Linked DNA regions of Homo sapiens: all the other regions are linked to region 2. The links are contacts of gene promoters, found by promoter capture Hi-C in blood cells and fetal thymus (Javierre and others, 2016). All regions are on one chromosome and are shown on one strand. The core of a region is centred on a gene start or on the middle of the fragment in contact, and the rest is flanking DNA. Distances in the headings are between cores, read along the strand shown.

Region 1 (3,489 bases), core at 871-3,370, 700 kb after region 2:
TATCATTGACAAGGTCATTATAGACCACTGCAGATGCTGTCCTGCGGTGTGAAGCATGTGTCATACAAGTCCAGGTTGGCTGGTTTGCTTTCTTCCTCTCTCTGTTTCTCTCTTTCTGGCTTCTTTTCTCCCTCCTCCAAAATATGGATTTGGTTCAAACTAACCTAAGAAGGTAGGAGTCCTAGGCAGTTCCTCTCCCAGGGTCTTGGGATGGCAAAGCAATGGACAGATGCTTCCAGCTATTAGGAGGAACTGGAAGCATCTAGGTACAGAACTGGAGAGGGTACAGCCAAGGAGTATGTGAGGTTCAAGCTCTATGTCTAACTAAGATGCCTACTGCTAAGGACTCAGAGTCAGAGAGGAAGCTGGGAGAGAGGAGCTGGAAAGGCCCGTGGGGTGGGGAGTTCCCATTTCTATCCAGGAAAGGCAGAAAGTAAGTCTAACAGAACAGCCAAGACTTAGGCAAAAGCAAGAGCCTAAAATGGACATATAGGCCAATAAGGTTTAAGCAAAATTGCCCCACCCCTGAGGCAAGCCCTTGCCTAATCCTAGGAGTATGACAGATCTGAATCCAGCTGTTGGGAGGTTAGCCAGTGAGAAAGAAGCCTGAGGGAAAAGACTGACTTTTAAATTTCAGCCAAGGACAGTAAAAGTTAGTGATTTTTTAGAGATTCTTACCATGATTTTGGAAAACTGAGAATACTGCCTGTCATACTCAGGGAAAGCTATAGTTGGGAGGGCAGAGACTTTCAAAGCTATTGTTGAATCTTGGCTTTAAGGTACAGGTGGGGAACAGGTCCTGGTAATCTTCCAATCTCTGTAACTGTGCCTTTCCTGCCCATGCCATCCCCATGCTGTGTTCTCTGAGGACCAAGAGTTGGGAAGAGGAGGGGAAAGCCCTGCTGTGCTATCAGACCCTGCATTACATGCCCATCCTCACTGCAGCCCTGGCCACTGTCTCCTTTCTTCCTTTCTTTATTTCTTTTCTTTTTTTCTTTCTTTCTTTCGCCAGGGTCTCACTATGTTACCCAGGCTGGTCTTGAACTCCTGAACTCCTGGCCTCAAGTGATTCTCCTGCCTGGCCACTTTCTATGGTCTCAGTATCTCAGGTATGATGGGGAGCAAGGTGATGTGTAGAAACCAAAGGCCACAAGTAGCAGTCATCATTCCCACTTACAGCCCAGTCCCAGAGGACACAGATCCTGTTTTTGCCCCACACCAGCTGTGTTGGGAGGAAAATTCTGTCTGTATTTCCTCCTTCAGCTGAAAGCAGAAAGCTTGCATCTGGGCCTCTTCAGTTATCACTTGGTCCTGGGGGACAGAGTTAATATCTGGAAACTGGCTTAAATAAAAGATATCAGGGAAGGGTAGGAGTCTGTTTTTCTCATTTTCTCACTCTTCCCCCACTTCACCCTTCTAAGGCTGCGTGGGTTCTCTCTCTCTCTCTATCTCTCTCTCTCTCTCTCTCTCTCTCTCTCTCTCTCTCTCTCTCTCTCTGTGTGTGTGTGTGTGTGTGTGTGTGTGTGTGTGTGTGTGTCACCTGAGAGACTGGGTTCTGCTACCCTCTAGTGGCCAGAGCTGAAAGGACTCTCCCACCCAATCAATCGGGACCTTCAAGCCTTTGGGAATAAACGAACAGCCTATTTGATGAATGACAAAACTGAGAAGGCCTAGAGAGAAACAATGCCTTTGAGGGTCAGGGGCATAGTTGGGACTAGAACCCAGGTCTCCTGTCTCTCGGGCCAGTGGTCAGTCCACTTTCACTTCCCCACCCTCTGACTTTTGCTTCTCCTTCCTTGCTCATCCCTGGGGTGGTTAGCCCGAGTAAGAAACCCTGAAGCCAAATGATCCCTCCCGGCCCTAGTGGAGCAGCACCTGCACCTCAAATGTCAAAATCGCAAATCAGTTCACAGCGGAGATCACAGGGGTTTATTCTAAGGACCCGACTGTCCTCCGACTTTCTGAGGTTAACAATCTTGCAGGATTTTTATTGACCTGATACAGCTCCCGTAGCCTTGGTGGCACCACCATACGGTTCCCGATAGCCACCCAGGTGTCCTGTCTCCACGGTAACTGCTGCTTTGCGACCTTCGGTTTGCAGCGGTCGCGCTGCAGCCGCTGCAGTGGTTGCTGGGCGACCACGGAGAGAAAGCCGGGACTTGAGGTGGGAACCCCGGCTGGCGTCCGGTAGGGGGAGGTTCCCGGGGAAGCCCGCGGAAGGCGAGGTGCCTGGCCTGCCATGTAGGGGCTCGTTCCAAGCCGCAGACCCCACCGCCCTCCCTCTCCCCGGGGCCCATGGCGGTGGCCGTGCCCCCGGGTCGGGCCGCAGGCTCAGGCTGGGCCTGGAGGCCAGTGGCGCGGGACGCGCTTTTGGCTAGAGCTTTCCATTCATGCACCGAACTGCGGGGACGGTTCTATCTCGTAGGTGGTCTCCTAGCAGGAGGAGCGAGAGAGCCCAGCAGCGATACGGTGGTTTTCGACCCAGCTAGGGGCCAGGCCGTACGATTGGGAGCCCGGGGCAGCCCCCCGCGCAGTCACCACGACGCGGCACCCGTGGACGGGCGTTGGCTCTGCGTGGTGGGCGGCTGGGACGGGTCTCGCCGCTTGGCCACAGTGACCGCACTGGACACAGAGCGCGGTGTGTGGGAGGCGTGGACAGGGACCCCTGGTGACTGCCCCCCCGCCGGCCTCAGTAGTCACACCTGCACCCGAATCTCTGACCGAGAGCTGCAGGTGGCTGGCCGGGAGGGCGGTATCCACACTCAGCGACGCTATGGAAGCATCTACACATTAAGGCTGGACCCCAGCGCCCGCACCTATTGGTATGGCACCCTCCGCCCAAAACCTTTCACTCTCATCCACACTCTCGAAAAACAAAAGCCTAAGCAGATTTCTCAGGCAATTTATCCACCTCCTCACTCTAGCACCCTCCTTCCAGGGGAACCTACCATGTTTAAGCTAGCTGAGCTCTCTACAGTATTACCCTCCCTCTTATCCCACCTACCGCACTGCCCCATGCCTCTTCTCCATCCATCCTTGGCAAGGGCGGTGGCACTTACATTTTCCAGAAAACCCACTCAGCCCTGAATTTCTGCATGTCCACAGCTACAAGCAAGAAGGCTGCCACACAGCCTCACGCTCAGGTCACTGTGCGGCCCTGCTCCAAACTCCTGGACCCCATCCAGGTCATCAGCTATTGCTCTTTGGAGGTTGCAACTTAGCTGAACCAGAAGTAGCTGGGCATTGGAGTCATGGGAAAATTAAGGTATTAGCTCCTCACACATCTTGTTTAGGATGGGAAGAGGCTAAAATTGTGATGCCCAGGTCTCTTCGGACAGTCCTTTCTTTCTCCCCAAGGAGGAACCACCTGTTGCTCCTCATTTGATGGAACAGCTTGCAAGGCTTGTGAGCAGTGGGCAGGGGTCCCAGAAGGGGCCCCATGGACTACGGCATCACTCATGTTCTGTGGTCGGGCCCTTTGCTGTGCTG
Region 2 (3,169 bases), core at 4-2,503:
TTAAAAAAAATGCCAATAGCTGGGTCACACCTCAGAAGTTTCTGGTTTAATTAGTCTGGGATGGTCCTGGGCATTGATGTGTTTTCAAAGCTTCCCAGGTGATTAAAATCTGCAGTCAAAGTTCACAACCACTGGTTTAATTGCAGGTAACATTTTAGATTAATGATAATGGGATTGGATTTGAGGAAACTCACACTTAATAAAGGTTGGATGAATAGGGAGTGGTCAAGGTTTCATAGATGAGGAAGGGAGAAAGAGAAGGAAGCTAGAAGGGAAGGCAGCTAATGCTAACTTATTGAATTTTATGTGCCAGAGATATAGAAATGAATGAGGCATGGTCCTTCTTCTTAGAGATCAGGATCTCACATGACAGACACTTCACCACAAGCCTATGACATAATACAGTTCTTGACCAGTTAAGTTTTTTTGTGTGTGAGCTACTTTTATTCTTTTTTTTTTTTTTTTTTAACTAAAAGTGAAGGGGGAAACCCCTCACACCCAGAACCCAGGTATTTCCCAATATAGACTGGGTCTGGAAATCCTTTTGTGAGCATTGAGAGTAGCCTTTCTGGGAAGGTGGGTGCTGGGGAAAGATCTGTAACTATTCCGGGAGATCAACTTGTACCCAGGCTCATCAGCAGGGCTGGAAGTAGATGGTGATTGTGGCCCTGCATGTGGGTACATTACTGCAGTCACCTGTACCTGGGAGGTGGCTAAAATTGCTAATTGCTTACATGGAAACACTTTGATGGCCATTCTGCTATAGTGTGAAGCTTCTATGAGTAAGGTACCAAGGATTCCCTTTCTCTGAGCAGCATTGTAAAAAGGCCCTACTTTTCATCAGAGCAGAAAACCTAACTTTTGCTACTGTGGTCTGGGCCTGACCTCCAGGGACAGCTTCATCCACACAGGAAGTAGGTAGGTGCTTCTCTATAGTCTGGACCTTCCCTCAGAGAGAGTCTACTGTCACTTCTTGAGTTCCTTGAATCTTCCCCAGGAGGGTCCAACTCCCAGGGCTCCTGGGAAGCCTCTGATCTGACCCCACCAGCCCCACCTCCACCTAGTGAGCTGGTGAGGTGTTGAAAGGGCTTTAATGGAGGGCCCTGGCTTTTAGCTAGGGGCCTCCTTCCCCGAGGAAGAGTACTGAAAGAAGTGTCCTAGAGAAGTGTTCTCTCCTAAGAGAAGTATCCTAGGCACAGAACAGAGAGGGGAAACTCGACTGGGAATTGACTGTGGCACTATGAGTATATGGAGGGTGTTCCTTCTGTTACCTCATTAGACCCTTTTTATATAAGCAGAAATTGAGGCTTGAAGAAATTAAGAAATTCGACTATGTCCTCAAGGACAGGAGCTGTACAAAATCCAATCTGTTCCATTCTATTGTCCCTCAGGCTCTTGGCCTCCCTCTGTTATTGTAGGTTGGCCCCTTTAGGAAAATCTCAGTTGAATGTCATTTCAGTGCTCTCCTTCCTTCTAAAGAATTAAGCTAGGTCCCTTAGACCATAGGGCACATGGGCCTTCTAGCTGGGTCTCTGTTTGCTTACTCAGTGACTTGGGGACGTGTGAAATCCAGATGGGATTCTATCCTGAGGTGAAGGTAGAAGGTAATACAGAGAATTGCTGAATGGGACAGACCACACCAATAAAATTTTTTGTTGGACTCTGTAATCCAGTGTTTTCATTGCAGAGATGTAATTGAAAGCCCCCAACCTCACCGTCAGAGAAAGGAGGGACTAAGCTTATTCTAGCCTGATGCCTGATACCTGTTAATTGGGAAGCCTTGTCTGTTAACATCCTGACTTAGGTTTCAAGCTTTCAGTGGGGCCAGACTATGGAATTATCTGTAATTCTGGCATCAGAAGCCCTTTTTCCAGTTCTTTGGGCCATTTTGGGGTCTGTGAAACAGGCTAGCAGCATGTGAAGATAATTCACACTAAATCTGCCTGAGAGTCAAGACAGTGCCACGGCAGCCCCGACTCTGTGTCAAATTACACACTAGCTGCCTAGCACTGGGGTGTGCTTTGGGGCAGGGCTGGGGACACCCATGTCCTCCCTACTTCCCTTAACCCTTCCCCAGCTCTCCTGCCACTCCCTCATACACCTGGTCGTGGTCACTGCCAGGAGCCCCAGTGCGGCCCAGTGCCTGCACATGATAGGCACAAGGTGAATGAGTGCCTGGACGCATGCAGGGACTTGGGTACCTGAAATGATGATTCTGCATATTTCATGTAGTCTTGATGCTGAGTCACCTGCTTACCCATACTACTGGAGGAGGGGATGAGGAAAGACAGAGTTTGGGCAAAGGAGAAAGGAAGTGTGTTTTACTGTTCTGCATCTTTGAACAATGCAGCATAGTTGGTTCTGTCCTCATCTTTGGACAGGTTAGAATGAACCATCAAAAGGGGTGAGATTAGGTCTCAGGAAATAGTTTTCATCAGGGAGGAGCAAAAATTCCCAAACAAGTGAGGAACAGAGGCTGGGAGTCTCTTTCTCTGGGATTCCTTAATCACAGGGTTGTTCAAGCAGGTGCCAGGATTGGAAACTGAAGGAGGCTGAGATATTGAAAAGGCCTTGGCCTGCTTAGGGAGAAGTATGTGAAGATGCTTTTGAAATGATACTACTCTAAGTGGCGGGTTGCACGGCAATAACATTAATGATAATTGAATACTGCTTTCACTTACTCCAAGGGGAACATGGACTTCCCACAGCCCAGGCTTTTACGGTGTGGGTTCACTCTTGTAGGGTCACATGTAAAAGAACCCTAACTGGTTTCTTGGCATACTGGGAGGCACAAATGCCCCAAACGTGTAGGATATTTTGTGAGATCCTACAATCCCTGTGTGGCACCTTCAACTCTAAAGTATCTGAAACTCCTGGGATGGACAATCTGCCTGCTTGGGGTTGGGGACCCAACTGGCCAAGGCATTTTTCCTCTTGGAGGTTTCCTGGGAGAAGGCCCCCTCTCCTCTGCCATTCAAACTCCCAGGCGCCCGCGTCTTTTCCTCCTCCCCTTCTTCCCTAAGGCAGGGTTCCCTTTGTAATTAATCCCAACACTCAAACCAGAGGGGAGGAAAAATGTGTTAATGAGGGAGCGTCCCAGACTGACTGGGGCGGTCGCTGCTCGCAGCTAGAACTCCAAGTAATTAAATTATTTTTGGAAGGAGGGGAT
Region 3 (3,397 bases), core at 102-2,601, 650 kb after region 2:
AACACTGTTGCTAAAATGTTGCTATGACAACTCCAAATCAACTAAGCCTGAGCAAGAAGGGGTAAAAAAAAAAAAAACAGGGTTCTGAAGAAGAGACAAAGGGGGAAGAATCCACCTACAAGCTCTGCCTTAGGACCCTGACACCCAGCCAGAGGGCAGGAAAAACAAAGAGCTGGGCAGACATGCCTCCAGAAAGAAACAGCTACACAGTACAAAGCAATAAGATAATCCCAACACAAAAGGGGCAAGATTTTTGGAAATTCTCTACCCATAAGGTCCTCCAAACCTTTCCTATCCAAGGAAAATTTTCAATGGATAAGCCTCGGAAAGACCGCGTCCGAGGAAAATGTTGAAAAAGGAACTGAAAGTGAAACCGTACAGACGAAGTAACGCTGCAAGGAGATCCCAGTCGATAAGGGGAAGTAGCACTAGTGTTTTGGGACCACCTACATTTCCATCTTCAAACCTGAAGAGGAAATGCCCTGCGAAGCTTGCCGCGCTGACTGCAGGGGAAGGCAATGAAATAGAGGGCCCGGCACAGGAGGCATCTCTATTGGCCACAGCTGTCAGCCGGGGCAGTCTCTGAGGACACCCAGCAACGGGGTCAGGGTACTTATTCAAATCTTAGTTGGACATCCGGAAGCATTTCCTAGGCATTAGGGATCGGTGACACGGAAACAGGGATGGGACGTTGTGGTGTGCACGCTCAGGCCAGAAGGGCCCAGTAAGAGCCCTTGCTAAGTCTGGACACAAAGGGAAAAAAAATCAACTCCCGAAAGAAGTCAGGCACCTAGACCTTGCCTTAGAATGAGGCGTCTCCCTGCAGGCTCACCAACCAGAAGGCGCTTACGGAGCTGAGCGCCCGCCAGGCGCGAGCCCGGGAGCCTGCGCCGTGACCCCGCAGCCCCGCAGTCTTAGCCCCGCGCCCCAGCTGCTCCGCGGAGGAGGCAGGAAAGGGCCTCGGGGACTAGGGAGCTCAAGCGCCCGGTGCCGGCGGCTGCGGCGCGCAGCTGGACAGCGCAGGAGGGCTGGGACGCTCGCGCTCTGGGGAAGGGAGAGAGTTTGGCCCACAAAGCAGGGTATGAGATAAAGAACCAGCACAGCCCCCTCCCCCAAAACAAAGGCTTCCTCCCCAGCAGTGTTCTCTAACTTGAAAAACGGAAACAAAATCAAAGCTGCCCTGCCTTGCCAGTCCACCCAGTTTCCAGACTTCTGCCCGGTCCTACACTCACCGGCCAAGGCCGTCTCAGCTGCCGATTTTCTCCAACTGTGTTCTCCCTCTCCCGGCCTAGGTATCTCCATAGACAGCTGCTCATGCGCACTTCCAGCCCGCGGCCATGTTGGTGAGGGGCGGAAGTGTCGCTCTCGCCCCGCCCATAAACTCAAACTCAGAACTGCCCCACTTCCGCTCACTCCATCTTGATGAGAGTTGGTGTTTGTGGGTTATTTGTGAAGCCGGAAAGAAGCCGTGTCCTGGAGAATGTAGCTGAAGGCCTGGCCACTTTCGACAAGAACGGGAAAGAGACGACTAACTTGTACTAATATCTTAGTGCTTGGCAGGGCATTTTTTCATTCCAGGAAAGAAGAGAATCCAGCTGAGATCAAGGGAGGGACGTCCGACGGAGGCGCCATCTTTAACAAGGGCTATTTGGGAGGCCATCTTGGCGCAGGGCGTCTTTTTGAAAGGTTACCTGCTAGAGATTACGACCTATCGGGGCATGCATAGAATTGGATATGTTCCTTGTTATTCGCGTCAGCAGTCACTCATCCAAAGACCCCAAAGCTTCTAGTGTTCTAAAGGCTCACACCTTCTGTGACAGGAATCTTGATTCCCATTCTTCTCAATCAAGACCTACCCTGAATGGATTTGGAGTAGTGTGGTATAATGGGAAAAATTCAAGCTTGGGGGCCAGGCAGATCCAGGTTTCAAACCCATCTCTGCCACTTCTTACCTCTGAGACCTTTGGCAAACATTTTGACTTAATTGAGCCTTAGTTTCCTCATCTATAAACTGGAGATACTAGCACCAACCTTCCAGAATTGTGTGGATTAAATAAAATCAAGGACATAGATTTTGTGAGCACAGGATACTTAGTCCAGTTCCTGGCACATAATGAACGCATTATGTAAATATAAGTTTCTCTTCCTTATTTCCTGACCACCATGAACCTAGCTCTAGTTTCTGGCCACTAGTCTCCATGACAACAACTGAGGAAGAGCACCCAAACAAGAAGAAGAAAAAGAATGTTTTGCCAAATATGTGAAGATATAATACCTATCACCAAAGACTTTAATAAGAATAATGAGACTCCACACTATGTGTAAAAATACAGCTTTTATTCTGAGACATTGACCTTCACTAGAGTGGGACCTGTGGCCCCAGCCTGGCTGGAGAAGCAGTCCCAGGGCCTGAGTGACACCATTTCCCTTTCCTGAAATAGGAACAAGTTATTCCAAAGGAGAAAGGAGAGCCCAGAGAGATCTGTACAGGACCTCTCTTGCACATGGTGACTGGAGGCAGAGGGTGGGGAGCTGGAGAGGAGTCCAGTCCCTCCAACAAATATTGAGGGCTTCAAAGAGCTCTTCCTGGACGTTTCTCTTAATCTGGATTTAAAAGGGACAGGAGGTATCTTAGGGTCCAAGAACATAACAGGAATGGGCAACTCTAGAAGTGTTTGTGTGTGGAAGGCCCTAACCTGGCCCTGTCCTCCCTGTCTCTACCTTTGGCTTTCATGAAGAGAGATTCACAGCTCAGAGGAAGGGAGGAATTTCTCCAGTCTTCACTTTAACAAACTCTTTTAAGTTTTCTGCCTACCTTATGTTCCCTTTGGCCAATGACCCACTCCCTGGGAACAAGATCTTGTTGACTTTCTTGGGAATCTCCTAAGAGATAAGTGCTTTGTGTCGGAGACAAGTTCAGGTAAACCAACCAAGGCAGTGCCTCCCACAGTCAAAGAGAGAAGCTGGAGGGCCAAAGCCTATAGAGTTGGGCACTACAGCTGCTCATGCTGCAGAGGAGACAGCTAGTCAGGAACCCTGGAGATTCAAGACAACTTGCTGGTCCCCTTTGCCCAGGGCTGTGGTCCTAATCACAGTCCTTCACCTTTCCCAGGGTTAGCCTGTGTTTCAAATGCATATGACCTGCGCTGAGAGGACAACAGGGGGTCAGGAACCTGGGGTTCTCTGGGGGGCAGACTAAGACGACTCCGGGATCCAGACCCTTCTGCACCTTCAGATGGGAGCTCCAGGCAGCTAAGGGGCCGAGGAGAATGGGCAGAGATCATGCTACAAGGGGAGGTTCTGGGGATGAGGCAGTAATCCCCACCCTCAGTACAGGTCTGGGTTCGCCGAACTCCTTGAGCCTCAGTCCTTTGGCGGTCCCGGGCTAGGGCCACAG

Evidence for each region. Contacts are between HindIII fragments. The CHiCAGO score rates a contact against its expected background, and 5 or more counts as called.
Region 1: the fragment with the promoter of KLHDC9 here is called in contact with a fragment that was not itself captured in region 2 in 1 of 17 cell types (fetal thymus); the score reaches 5.2 in fetal thymus.
Region 3: a contact is called between the fragment with the promoter of USF1 here and a fragment that was not itself captured in region 2, in 1 of 17 cell types (fetal thymus). The highest score is 5.3, in fetal thymus.

The regions. Positions count from the first base shown.
Region 1 is chr1:161,096,241-161,099,729 of GRCh38, forward strand. KLHDC9 (kelch domain containing 9) reads left to right here and starts at 2,121. Exons shown (of 4, transcript NM_152366.5): 1 at 2,121-2,822; 2 at 3,106-3,265; 3 at 3,358-3,489. The coding sequence starts at 2,296. RefSeq lists silencers at 2,255-2,434, 2,495-2,544. The HindIII fragment of the contact is 8,697 bases long and covers 1,276-3,489 here.
Region 2 is chr1:160,396,853-160,400,021 of GRCh38, forward strand. The region is part of intron 3 of LOC105371466 (a long non-coding RNA gene); the gene reads right to left. Among named protein-coding and RNA genes, the nearest start is that of VANGL2, 2.1 kb to the right of the region's middle. The HindIII fragment of the contact is 965 bases long and covers 772-1,736 here.
Region 3 is chr1:161,044,626-161,048,022 of GRCh38, forward strand. It overlaps USF1 (upstream transcription factor 1), which reads right to left and starts at 1,352. Exons shown (of 11, transcript NM_007122.5): 1 at 1,233-1,352. ARHGAP30 (Rho GTPase activating protein 30) reads right to left here. Exons shown (of 12, transcript NM_001025598.2): 12 at 2,321-3,397. The coding sequence ends at 3,090. RefSeq lists enhancers at 152-381, 441-1,321, 920-2,119, 1,232-1,711, 1,322-2,202. The HindIII fragment of the contact is 1,293 bases long and covers 489-1,781 here.